Regions from separate parts of the Homo sapiens genome. Here region 2 is linked to region 1. Evidence: promoter capture Hi-C in human tissues and cell types (Jung and others, 2019). All regions are on one chromosome and are shown on one strand. Each heading gives the region's core, a stretch centred on a gene start or on the middle of the fragment in contact. The rest is flanking DNA. Distances are from core to core; before and after follow the strand shown. Region 1 holds the start of ZNF736 (zinc finger protein 736). Region 2 overlaps ZNF107 (zinc finger protein 107).

Region 1 (3,660 bases), core at 994-3,493:
TGCAGTGGCATGATCTTGGCTCACTGCAAACTCCGCCTCCCAGGTTCAAGCAATTCTCTGCCTCAGCCTCCTTAGTAGCTGGGATTACAGGTGCCCACAACCACGCCCAGCTAATTCTTGTATTTTTAGTAGAGACGGGGTTTTGCCATCTTGGCCAGGCTGGTCTTGAACTCCTGACCTGGTGATCCACCATCCTCAGCCTCCCAAAGTACTGGGATTACAGGTGTGAGCCACCGTGCCTGGCCTGGCTGAGCACTTTTTTAAATGGGAGCCCTCAGTTTTTATGTCTGTCATCAAAGAGAGTTGGGGTGGGAGGTCCCTGAGCCTCAGCTCCCATTGTCCCCTTTGAACCCCAGAACCTGCTGCAGACCCAAGTCCTGCTTTGTGCACATCCCCTGCCCCTGGTGGCCCTGGCAGTAATGCAGTATGAAGAGTGTGGGGAGGGGACCTAGTCAGGGTCCAAGGGGCCTTTCTGATGACCATTGGCTGACTTCTAGGGAAATGTAACACCCAGAAAGAAAAGGAAGGTGAGCAGCTGGGGCAACATTGGGAGAGAGTGGGGAGGTGAAAGTCAGCAACACCCTGTGCTATCAGGTGGTGATGGGGATGAGTATCCACTTTTGGGTGTCCATTCAAGGCCTGTCCCTGAAATCTCATAAGCCCCCATCTCCTGGACTCTCCTATCCACATCTTTTACTTGAAAAAGCCAAAGACACGCAGCTGCCTCTCTCCAACTCTCTCCCCTCTTCCTAGCTGGCCTCCAAAAACATGAAGCACTCCCTTATTAACTCTGTGGTGAGATTTTAACAAGTCACAATGTTATGTGGTCCCTAGCTCCACCGTTTCCCAAATCCACTCAGCCCAGCTCTTCCAGGCCTTTACTCTGATTTCTCTTATAGAGGCATTTCAGGGACTGTTGCCACAGGAGGGAAGGGCTGAGGGAGAAAGGCCCCTTGCTCTTTTGATGTGGAGGCCTCCAGCTGGGAGGGAGGAGCTCTTCCCTCTGAATCCCTGGAGCTCTTCCCCATCACAGGTACCTGCCTTTTTGCTGCTTTAGCCTCATCTGGGCTTTCTGTGGTTTCTTCTCTAGGGTGGCCAACTTGGGTGTCTTCCTCTGCCAGGGTCAAGGACAAGGTCAGTGATATTATGCTCCCTTCACCCAGTTATGCCCAGTTACATTGACCTGGTACCCTGGATAACTGGTGTGAGTCAAGCTGGTCCAGTGCTCCTGCCACCTCCAGTAAACTCTGATTCTAGATTCACTCCCTGCTGCAACACTCACTGTGTGTGGAACCTTGGGCATGCAGCCAGGCCTCCCTGAGACTGTTTCTCAACTTGAAAGTGTGATGGGAACCACACCTACCTCACTGGGCCTCGTGAGGACTCAGTTATATGTAGCCGTCACCATTGTTCTCATCATCATCTCTCTCAGGAAGAGCCAGGCACAAGCACTCTCAAATTTTTCTCCTTTGAAGCTCCTCATTACCCTGTGAGGCTCATCATCCCTACATTTTTTAGATAAGAAAACAGAGGCCCAAAGAGGGCAGTGACTTGCCCAGGGCTCTACAGAAGAGGCCGGCTCCTCCCCACACCTGGAGGCCCTGACCTAGCTGACTTTACCCCACAGCCCAGCACTATCCCTGACTAGGGTCCCATCTTGGTTCTCCATGCTTGTTTAGGTCCTCAGGCAGGCTCAGCTTTGGTGGGAAAGAGACAGGGTGTTTTGGGAGGCCTGGGCGAGTGGCACCTCTAACCAATCTGCTAGGCCCTCACCTCTCAGTCTCACTGAGACACTCCATTAATTGGAAGCAGACCCAAAATTGCTTCACAGACTGAAGGTGATAATTGTCTACAGCCAGCTGAAGCAGCTGCATCTCCTGGAGGACTTTGATCTCCTGCAGCTAAAGGGAAAGACAGGATGCTGAGACAGGGCCTGCAGCATACACATAACTATAATTCAGAATGTAATATATACACACACACGAAAATATAATCAGAAAGTGATATAATCTTATATGCAAGGTTAAATACAAATGTCTCTCAGGCAGGGCCAGGCCCCCAGCACAGGGAGGACTCGCCTGAAAACGCTGCAGGCAAAAACCTGTCACCCTTGCCTCATTCAGCCCAGTGTCTGATTACATCTTCTGTCACTTAGGATTGAAACGGGTGGGGCCTGGAGCCCTAGCCAATCAGTGGCGCCAGCGTGAAACTGTCCAATCAAGTGCGCAGCTACAGAGGAAGAGGCGGCCTCTTCAATATGGCGGGGCCTTTGTCTCCTAGCTTCCGGGCTCTGATCCTAGTTCGCGTCTCCACTGTTCCATCTCCTCCGTTCCTGGAGTTCCTCGGTGACTCTACTATAGCTTCTGTTATCCTGTGACCTGCAGGTACTGGGAGATCCATAGGGAGGACGGCGGAACATCTGGAGGCTGGGAAATGGTGAGTGCGTGGAGTGGGTGTCCCGAGAATGGGGAAGAGGCTGTTTGAATCCGGCCGGAACCGGCTGCGGTGGTATCTGGGCCTTCTCGCGGTCTGCTCTGGAGTCTGCATCCCCGAGTCCCCGCGGGCACAGCTCAATCCTCATTTCCCTCCATCGCAGATTAGGGGCTGAGCCAGCAGCCAAAACGCTACGTCTTGTTTTGTCCCTAAACTCGAATTTCTCCCCAGCTCAGATCCCTTCCTGGGCAGCTCTGTGCCGCAACCTCGAGTCTCCCTCCTCCAGATTGTGTGGGGGTGTTGGGAGTGTCATAAGACGGGAATTCTCATTTAGGGTCTGGAGTTCCTCCGTGGAAGAAGCAGTGGGCCGTGGGGTCCCTAGTCCCTCCTTTCTCCTTTTAAAAATAAAATCATGGCCCTTTTTTAAATTTATTTATTTTTGAGACAGTGTCTCACTCTGTTGCCCAGGCTAAAGTGCATTTCGGTTCACTGCAGCCTCCACCTACTGGGCTCAGATGATCCTCTCACCCCAGCCCCCCAAGTAGCTAGGACTAGAGGGGTGCGCCACCACGCCTATTTTGTTTTGTTTGTTTTTGTAGAGACAGGCTTTTGCCATGTTGCTCAGGCTGGTCTCGAACTCCCCGAGCTCAGGTCTCAGGTGATCCGCCCGCCTCGGGCCTCCTAAAGTGCCGGGATTACGTGCATGACCCACCACCCTAGCCTAAATTGAGGCAACTTTAGGATATAATTTGGATGTGTTTTCCAGCCCAAATCTCCTATTTAAATGTAATCCCCCATGTTGGAGGTGGGGCCTGGTGGAAGGATTGTGGGCCCGGATTTCTCACGAATAGTTTAGCACCATTCCTCTTGGTATTGTCCTCTCAATAGTGAGTGAGTTCCCTGAAGTTCATCATTTAGAAGTGTACAGCACCCCACCTTGCCTCTTTTTCAAGCTCTTGCTTCACCTTCATCCATGATTTTAAGCTTTCTGGGTGGGGCCTCCCCAGAAGCAGACGCTGGTGTTATGCTTTCTATGCAGCCTGTGGAACCATGAGCCAATTAATCCTCTTATAAATTACCCAGTCTGAGGTATTTATAGTAATGCCAGAAGCGATTAATACAAATAGTTTACTTGCACAAACAGTAATTTATCAATCAGAGAACACCCAGCTATGATTTGTTGTTTGGGGGCTCAAAGGAGGGTCTTGGAACAAAAGGTTGTTTTTT
Region 2 (3,540 bases), core at 361-2,860, 400 kb after region 1:
CATGGAAAAGCTTTTAACCTATTCTCAAACATTACTAACCATAAGATAATTTATACTGGAGAGAAACCCCACAAATGTGAAGAATGTGGAAAAGCTTATAACCGATTCTCAAACCTAACTATACATAAGAGAATTCATACGGGAGAGAAACCTTACCAATGTGCAGAATGTGGCAAAGCCTTTAACTGCTCCTCAACCCTTAATAGACATAAGATAATTCATACTGGAGAGAAACCTTACAAATGTAAAGAATGTGGCAAAGCTTTTAACCTATCCTCAACCCTTACTGCACATAAGAAAATTCATACTGGAGAGAAACCCTATAAATGTGAAGAATGTGGCAAAGCTTTTAACCAATCCTCAAACCTTACTACACATAAGAAAATTCATACTTCAGAGAAACCCTACAAATGTGAAGAATGTGGCAAATCCTTTAACCAGTTCTCATCTCTTAATATACATAAGATAATTCATACTGGAGAGAAACCCTACAAATGTGGAGATTATGGCAGAGCTTTCAACCTATCCTCAAATCTTACTACACATAAGAAAATTCATACTGGAGAGAAACCCTACAAATGTGAGTATGGCAAAACTTAATTGATCCTACAAGCTTACTACACATAGGAAAATTCATACTGGAGAGAAACTACAAATGTGAAGAATGTGTTAAAGCCTTTAACAAGTCTTCAACTTTTTCTGCACACACGAGGTATTTTATACTGGTGAGAAACCTTACAATGTAAAGAATGTGGCACAGCTTTTAACTAATCTTCAAACCTTACTGAAAGTTGAGAAAATTCGTACTGGAGAGAATCCTACAAATGTGAAAAATGTGGCAAATCCTTTAACTGATCCTCAACTTTTACTAAACATAAGGTAATTCATACTGGAGAAAAGCCATACAAATGAGAAGAATGTGGCAATGCCTTTAATCAGTCCTCACACCTTTCTACACATAAGATAATTTATACTGGAGAGGAACTCTATAGTTGTGAAGAATGTGGCAAAGCTTTTAACCAATCCTCATACCTTACTATACAGAAATTCATACTGGAGAGAAAGCCTACAATTGTGAAGAATGTGGCAAAGCTTTTAACCTTCCTTAACCCTTAACTGTAGATAAGAAAATTCATACTGGAAAGAAACCCTACAAATGTGAAGTCTGTGGCAAAGCTTTTAACTGATTCTCAACTCTTACTACATGTAAGAGTATTTATACTGGAAAGAAACCCTACAAATGTAAAAAACGTGGCAATGCCTTTAACTGGTCCTCACACCTTGCTACATATAAGACAGTTTATACTTTGAGAGAAACCCTGCAAATGTGAATAATGTGGCAATACTTTAAACCAATCCTCAAACCTCACTAAACATAAGATAATACTGAAAACTTTACAAACCTGAATGATGTGACAATAATTTTGACAACACCTCGAACTTTCTAACATAAATCATACTGGTGAAAAATCCTAGAAATGTGAAAAATATCACAAAGCCTTTAAATGGTTGTCACACTTGATTGTAGGTAAGAATCCATACTGAAGAAAACTCCTGGAAGTGTAAAAAATGTGGCAACACTTTTAATAAATGCTCACCCCTTATTGCACAGGAAAGCATTTATACTTCAGAAAGATTGTACAAATACAAGGAATGTGGAAAAGCCATTATTATCTGCTCAGATTTTACTCAACATTAGAGAGTTAGTACGTAATAAAAGCATTATAAATGCAATTTTTGTCAAGAGATCTTTCAGAAAATATAAGCCTTTAAAGTGAAGAAGAGGAGCCAGTTGTGCTGGCTCACATCTGTAATGCCAGCACTTTGGGAGGCCAAGGTGGGTGGATCACCTGAGGGCAGGAGTCTGAGACCAGCCTGGCCAACATAGCAAAACCCCATCTCTATTAAAAATTTTACAAAAATTAGCTGCGTGTGGTGGCAGGCCCCTGTAATCCCAGCTAATTGGGAGGCTGAAGCAGGAGAATTGCTCAAACCTGGGAGGCGAAGATTGCAGTGAGCTGAAATCACACCACTACACTCCAGCCAAAGCAACAAGAGCAAAAACTTCGTCTCAAAAACAAAACAAAAAAAGAGTATTCATTGTGAGGACAAACAATACAAATACGAAGAGGGTTGTAGTACCTTTACTTGTATCACAGATACTTTTGTACCCATTTTGCACTAGAGGAAAACCATGAAGCAGTTGCTCAAATGTTGTTCAACACCAGAAAATTTATATTGGAGAAAAGCACTGTAAATGTAATGCATTTGTGAAAACATTTTTTAAAAAACTACAGCTTAGAAAATACCAGAGGCCTCATACTAAAATATATTTTTGCAAGTGAAGTAAATATAAAAATAATTTAATCCAAAATTAAGTCTATATAAATATCAGAGAATTCACAGTAGAAATATCTAAGGTACTGACACTTCAGACATTGCTGAGTATAGAATCAGAATGCTGAGTATAGAAAATAATTTAAAACTAAAGTTGGTAGGTAAATAATGTGTATATAACTTTAAAAGAAGTAGAATTTTTTTGTAGATGTATAATTACATTCAAATTATATTTTTTCTTGAAAAATTAGTTTTTGAAAAGCAAATGATGTAATTCAACTCAAATTCATGCTCTTCATTCCTATTGTATTCACATGTGAAAGCATGTGATTAATTTTTCATGCATCAAAGATATGAGAAATCATTTCTGTTAGGTCGGTATTATTTATGACACTTTCTATGAAAGAATAAGGACATTAAAATGTAAGATGCATGATGAAAACCTGAGTGAAGAGGCTGTTTGTGTTTAACTTATAATATTGAGTGATCCATGAAGTAGGTTTTCAGAGCAATATTCTTCTGCATTATAGTAAGAGAAAACCATTTTTAATCTTAGTTAAAATTAAAGTGAATTAGTAGTATATCATTTTACTATTTGTACTTTTATGTAATAAAATGCAATGTGTTTAAAAATTTTTGGATTATGCGTGAACTTAGTTTTTTAATTAAACTTTTTTTAACATGTTAAAACTATTGTGCATTCAATGAAGTGTTTTCATGCCACTGACTTTACCTATCCCACATTACTCAAGGGTTTAGGTAAAAGAGGGTAACAGTATACTACTTGATAACATAATGGGCTAACATCTCTAATAATTATTTTTGCTAGTGACTTTAAACTGCTAATAAAGAATATTGTTCCCATAGGTTAGATTTTTATTCTTTTTAAAATTTAAACTTATTTCTCTTAATTTTTGTGGATACATAGTATGTGTATATCTTTATGCCATGTATGGCATATTTTGATACAGGCATATAATTTTATGTATTAATCACATCAGGGCAAAAGATGTATCCATCAACTCCAGCATTTCTCCTTTGTATTACAAACCAATTCTGCACTTTTAGATACTTTAGAATGTACAGTCGTTACTACAGGGTCATTTTATGGTTATAATAAAAATTATATACAAGTATAAATAAACCATGAGAAAATTCTGAGTTCTGAATAAACATTTAAAAAATGTTATATATTTTTCTTTG

The links. The method cuts DNA at HindIII sites, captures the fragments that hold promoters and counts their contacts. A contact is called where the count stands out against the background at its distance.
Region 2: a fragment that was not itself captured here is called in contact with the fragment with the promoter of ZNF736 in region 1 in 1 of the 25 tissues and cell types used here (bladder).

Annotation. Positions count from the first base shown.
Region 1 is chr7:64,311,718-64,315,377 of GRCh38, forward strand. ZNF736 (zinc finger protein 736) reads left to right here and starts at 2,244. Exons shown (of 4, transcript NM_001170905.3): 1 at 2,244-2,436. The coding sequence starts at 2,434. RefSeq lists an enhancer at 2,297-2,476. The HindIII fragment of the contact is 17,485 bases long and covers 1-3,660 here.
Region 2 is chr7:64,708,057-64,711,596 of GRCh38, forward strand. ZNF107 (zinc finger protein 107) reads left to right here. Exons shown (of 4, transcript NM_001282359.2): 4 at 1-3,521. The coding sequence ends at 600. Among named protein-coding and RNA genes, the nearest start is that of MIR6839, 31 kb to the left of the region's middle. The HindIII fragment of the contact is 5,049 bases long and covers 1-3,540 here.